2 separate regions of the Homo sapiens genome follow, and region 2 is linked to region 1. Evidence: promoter capture Hi-C in human tissues and cell types (Jung and others, 2019). All regions are on one chromosome and are shown on one strand. The core of a region is centred on a gene start or on the middle of the fragment in contact, and the rest is flanking DNA. Distances in the headings are between cores, read along the strand shown. Region 1 holds the start of KCNA10 (potassium voltage-gated channel subfamily A member 10). Region 2 has its middle 35 kb from the start of CD53.

Region 1 (3,051 bases), core at 8-2,507:
GAACCGGAGCACCAGCTCGAAGGTGAACCACACGATGCAGGTAGACTCCACCATGAAGAAAGGGTCGGTGAACATGGTCTGGGAGAGGACTGTCTTGCTCATGTTGAGATTGGGGTCTCTGACCACCTTTAGCTCCCTATCCTCCCGGAACTCTGGCAGTGTCTCCAGGCAGAAGATGGTGATGGAGATGACCACAACCAACACCGAGACCACGGCCACAGCACGGGCAGCGCTGGAACTTTCAGGGTACTCAAAGAGGAGCCAGAACTGACGGTGGATGTCATTGGTGGGTAGCAGTGTTTCAGGGTCTTTGATGAAGCCTTCATCCTCCCGGAACTGGTCCATGGCCTCACTACCCAGCTCATAGAAGGAGATTTCATCAGCAAAGATATCAATGGGAACATTGGCTGGGCGCCGAATTTTCCCACCAGATTGGTAATAATATAGGATTCCATCAAAACTGGGCCGGTTCCGATCAAAGAAATACTCATTTCTCATGGAGTCAAAGAACTGCATCCTTTTTTCCCGGTCTCCCAGGAGAGTCTCTGGGAACTGACTAAGGGTTCTGAGCTGGGTCTCAAATCTCAGCCCAGCAATGTTGATGATCACCCGCTGGTTTCCTTCATTTAGGACCACTGGCTCAGGCCCTGGGGGGTCAGCATAGTCTCCCGGAAGCTTGGAGAAGGCCGTCTCATGGTTGGTGCTTTCGCTGATGAGGATCTTCCCGTTGGAGAAGGAGCTGCCCCCAGGCCGGCCTTTTGGGCTGGTTGAGTCGAAGTCTGTGGCATAGCCTGGCTCTTCTTGGATTTCATCTGAATTATCAAAATTGACCAGCGCAACCTCCATTTCTTTCCAGCCACACACATCCATTCTAGGGGAGCCAGGGAAGAAGCATGAAGATCCTCAGCCTTCACTGCCTGCTGTGAGCTATGGAGAAGAAGAAGTTCATTATACAAGATCCAGGGCAGAATACAACTGGCCCTTGTTTATTGAGGTAAGGTACACCAATGGGCTAATCAATGACTTATTTGTAGCTTGGGAAGGAACGTCATGGTTATTTTGGCAGCATGCTTCCCTTAAAATCATTTTGTACCCCTGAGTTTGCATAAACTAATAACTAGGAGAAATTGCAAAAAAAGGATCCTGGCAAAGAAGGGGAGATTCTCCCCAGCAAAGGATGGTCTCCATATGTGATGGCAGAGGGGCCATACTAAAAGAGGAAGTTAACATTCCTTAATAATAAAAAGCATGATCTTGTATTTGCATGAAGCCTTCTGTCTCACCAAACACGTCTCCATGCCCAATCTCATTCGTAATGCCTCTCTTTCACACCAACAGCCAGTCCCTCACACATCCTTTTGGTCATGTCTTCAAAATATATCTAGAATTCAACCATTTTGCATCACTTCCACCCCTGCTTCTGGACCAAGTGGTGAAGGGTGGAACCAGATCTATGAACCCAATGGGGATTCTTTAGGGAAGGAAAAACAAGACGCTGGGTTGGCCAATCGACAATGTCCTCTAAATGACCCCTCACCTGGAAATAACTCCTAGAGTTGTTTTGAAGGTACCTCAAATGAGATAACACGTATGGAATGCTTGGTGGAAAGAAAGATCACTATATTATAGCTATTGTTTTTTGTCAACTTTCCCACATAACAAGCACTTTAGAAACTACCAGCAATTGGAATTTTTTTTGGCCTGAGTCCAAGGTGTCCATAGGAAGTAATTTCATTTTGAGAAATCATTTTAGGTGGGAAGGAAGTAAATAATTGTGTGTGTCTGTGTGTGTGTGTGTATATGTGTGTGTGTGTGTGTGTGTGTGCGCGCGCACGCTGGAGGTGGGGTTAGGAAATCATGCCCAGTGGGCTTGGACATCTATACACATAGACTAATATTTCTTTCCTCAGGTTCATTCTAGCTTCAGTTTCAATTTAAGAACACTGAACCCAGGCAGGCTGGGGGTGGGAGTGGGAGAGAAGTAAGGGACTTAACCTCAGGCAAAATCTGTAGTGGTCACAGCCTTGGAGAGGTTTCCTTTACAGGCGACAAGGCTATCCTGCAGTGTAGTGTTGTAGTCTTTTCAAAGTGATTCCACATTCACTTATCTCACTAGATGACAATAATCACGTGAGGTTAGATGTTATCTCTGTTTTGCAGATGCGGAAACCAAGTCACAGGGACAAAGTGACTTCCTAAGGTCACATAACTAGTGCTACAGAGTCCTGACCTAAACCTGGCCATGGCCTTCTGGCCCAGGGCCTTTCCCACTAGACCATGGAGTCCCTATATAGGAGCTGAGCCTTGTGGGGAGCTGTAGGCTAGGGCCACAGAATTGTCAGGGGTCCAGAGCTCTTTCCATCCCATGACCCCTTTTCTCAGTTCAGGTGCCATGTGTTGAATGATGAGCTCAAGTCTGGTTGGTCAGCACTGGTAGAGTACCCATTCTACCTCTCAGGAGTATGTGGCCATTGCAAACGGCCTAATTTCACGGAGCTGCTGCTTCCTCAGTTGTGGAATGAGGAAGGATGTACCCACTGCCAAGCATGCCAGGTGCCAGCCTGCTCTGCAAGGCTCGGTGAGCAGTAGGATGGCTGGGAGGCAGGATGGAATCTGAGAATAGAATCAGTCCACCCGAGTTCAAATCCTGGCTCTGTACATGGTAAAGCCCTGGAGAAATGTAGCTTCACAGTAATTCGCATGATGATTTGGGGGCCTTGTCCTGAACTGCTTGGCAGCTGGATGGCTGTGGGTGGGGGACTCCAGCTCTGTGTTGATCTCATGTCTTCGGAGCACCATTTTCTCCTTTGGGGTCTTGGACCGCAGATGGTGCTCCCTGATGATTATCTTCCAGGTGTGAATCAGTCCCGCTTTCTGAGAGGAATGAGTACCATCAGTGAGCTTTGGGCAAGGTTTGGGAACCACTTCCATGGTTCTAGCCAAGGCTAGAGTGACCCTTATCAGGAACTTCTCTGGAGGCCAGCAGCAGAAAGCATTTGGGGATTAGGGAGAGCTTCTTTGGCCAAATAATTAACTTCCTTTTTTGGGAGC
Region 2 (3,234 bases), core at 698-3,197, 320 kb after region 1:
GAATTTGTGAAGAAAATATAAGTGATTTAATAATGGCTTTAATATTAGCCAACCAAATGAACATGAAACATCTAGGTGAAAAACTATAAAATATAGAACAGCAATAGTATATTATTATATTTTTATGTAACTGATATGATCTTTAGAAAGAAATCTGAATCCTTTCTCTTATAACCATGATGGTCAACTGGGGGTTAAGTAATTTACATTTTCACTGCTCTTTTATCTTTACTTCAGTTTGTGTAAGGGCTTATCAAATCAACAAACATTTATTGAATATGTATGTTGAATATACTAATTACAGTATCATAAAAATAGGGCTCACTCCCTGCTGTCAGAGAGCATAGCATCTAGAATGGATGGGAGACATAGATAATTATCATAAAAGGTGAAATGTGATAAGTGCTTGCAGAAGGTACTAGTAATGACAGAAATGTTCAGGATAGTAGACATTGGATTCTGCTTGGAAGAAGTAGCATTTGAATTGAGGCCTCAGTAATGAAGTACGTTGCTTACTTATTTTAGTGCTTACTTTGTAGCATGTTTATTGTAACAGAATTAGAAAAAATTCAAGTATGAAACAGAAAGTAAAAACTCCTTGTAATCCGGTCACTCAAAAGATTATAAAAATTAAAGTTTGGTTTGTTTCCACTCAAGAAAAAAAGAATGTTGTATAAATGGAATCATGAGAAGGTAACCCCTTTGAAATCAGCTTTCTTCCCCCCATTTAGCATAATTCTATAGAGATTTGTCCGGGTTGCTGCATGTAGCAATTGTTTATTCTTTTTTATTGCTGATTAATATTCCATGGTATGAATATGCCACAGTTTGCTTAAAACCAGTTACTGAAGGACATAAGGATTGTTTCCAGTTTTTGGCTATTACTATAAAGCTGCTATAAACATTTGTACACATTTTTTGTGAGCATAAGTTTTTATTTCTCTGGATTAAATGCCTAATAGTTCAATTGCTGGGTTGTATGGTAATTGCAGGTTAAGTTTTGAAAGAACCTGCCAAACTGTATTTCATGGCAGCTATGCTGTTTTACATTTCTACAAAGATATGAGGGATCCAATTTCTCTGCATCCTTGCCAGATTTTGATGTCTTTGTTTTTATTTTAGCCATTCTGATAGGTGTATAGTGATATTTTATTGCTGTTTTAATTTGTGGTTCCATAATGGCTAATGATGTTGAACATATTTTGATGTGCTCATTTGCCATCTGTATATCCTCTTTAGTGAAATGTCTTTTTATGTCTTTTGCCATTTTCTAACTAGATTATTTTCTGGTGAGTTTTGACCGTTCTTTATATATTCTGATTACTAGTTCTTTGTCATATATGCACTTTGCAAATTTTGTATGGAAATTTATTTAGCTTTTACTTTAGATTTTGGGATACATGTGTGGATTTATTCTATAGGTAAACTTGTGTCATGGGGGTTTGCTGTGAGATTATTTCATAACCAGGTACTAAGCCTAGTACCTAATTGTTATTTTTGTTGTTGTTCCTCTACCTCCTCCCACCCTTCACTTTCAAGTAGGCCCCAGTATCTGTTGTTCCCTTCTTTGCATTCAGAAAGCCAAATACCACATGTTCTCACGTATAAGTGGCAGGTAAATGATTTAAACTTTTAAATATTTTATTCATCATTGATTTTTACAGTAATTTAAACTGTTAAAATATTACATTAAACTCTTTTCAAAACTAATTATTTTTACTGAATAAAAATTATATATATTAGTTTTGTATAGCATGATGTTTTGATATATGTATATATTGTGAAATGCCTAATCAATCTAATTAATATATGATTACCTCACATACTTATTATATTTGTGGTGAAAACATTTAAAATCTACTATTTTAGTAATTTTCAAGTATACAATACATTGTTATTAACTGTATTCACCTTGATGTATAATAGATTTCCTGAATTTATTCCTCCTGTCCAACTAAAATTTTATATCCTTTGACCAACATCTCTCTATTAACCCCGTTTCCCAGACTGGTAACCACTATTCTACTCTCTGTTCCTATGAGTTTAACCTTTTTAGAATCCATGTGGTATTTTTCTTTCTGTGCCTTGCTTATTTCACTGAACATAATGTCCTCCAGCTTCTTCCATGTTGCTGCAAATGACAGGATTTTCTTTTTTAAAGGCTGAATAGTATTCCATTGCGTGTATATTCAACACAGTACTAGAAGCCCTAGAGAGAGTAATCAGGCAAGAGGAAGAATTAAAAGCCATCCAAATGGGAAAGGAAAAAGTTAAATTGTCTGTTTGCATATGACAGGACCTTATATTTAGAAAAATTTAGATTCCAGCAAAAAATAGAACTAATAAACAAATTCAATAAAGTAGCAGGGTACAAAATCAACATACAAAAATCAGTAGCATTTCTATACACTAACAACAAACTATCTGAACAAGAAATGAAGAAAACAATACCATTTATAATATATACAAAAAATCAAAATAGTCAAGAATAAATTTAATCAAGGAGGTGAAAGATATGTATACTAAAAACCTCCTGGGTAGCTGGAGCAGAGAATTGCTTGAGCCCAGGAGTTTGTTCAGCAACATATTAAAAGGATTACACACCACGACCAAATGGGGTCTATCCCAAGAATGCAAGTATGGTTTCATATAAAAAAATCAATCAATATAATACACTACAGTAATAGAATAAAGGACAATATCATATGATTGTCTCAACTGATGCTGAAAAAGAATTTGAGAAAATCCAGCACCTTATAATAATAAAAATATTCAACAAACTAGAAATAGGGGAGAACTTCCTCAACATGATAAAAGCCTTATATAAAAAAAACCCAGAGTTAACACTATATTTGATGATTAAAGTCTGAAAGGTTTGCCCTAAGATCAGGAACAAGACAAGGATGTCCATCTCTGTCACTTCCATTCAACATTGTTATGGAAATTCTAAGCAGGAAAATTAGATAAGAAAAAGAATAAAAGGCATTGTATCAAAACTGCAAAGGAGAAAGTAAATATATTTCCATTTTCAAATGATATAATCGCATATAAAGAAAATCCCAAAGAATCTACACACAAAAAAACTACTAGAGTTGATAAATGAATTAAGCAAAGTTGCAGATTACCAGGTAAACATACAAAAAATCGGTTTTATTTCCACATCCTAACAATGAATAATCTGAAAATGAAAGTTTAAAAAAATTTCATTCACAATACCATAAAAAAATTAAGAAT

Evidence for each region. Contacts are between HindIII fragments. The study calls those that stand out against the background at their distance.
Region 2: a contact is called between a fragment that was not itself captured here and the fragment with the promoter of KCNA10 in region 1, in 1 of the 25 tissues and cell types used here (spleen).

The regions. Positions count from the first base shown.
Region 1 is chr1:110,517,918-110,520,968 of GRCh38, forward strand. It overlaps KCNA10 (potassium voltage-gated channel subfamily A member 10), which reads right to left and starts at 1,258. Exons shown (of 1, transcript NM_005549.2): 1 at 1-1,258. The coding sequence starts at 870. The HindIII fragment of the contact is 7,025 bases long and covers 1-3,051 here.
Region 2 is chr1:110,836,101-110,839,334 of GRCh38, forward strand. No RefSeq gene overlaps it. Among named protein-coding and RNA genes, the nearest start is that of CD53, 35 kb to the right of the region's middle. The HindIII fragment of the contact is 9,467 bases long and covers 1-3,234 here.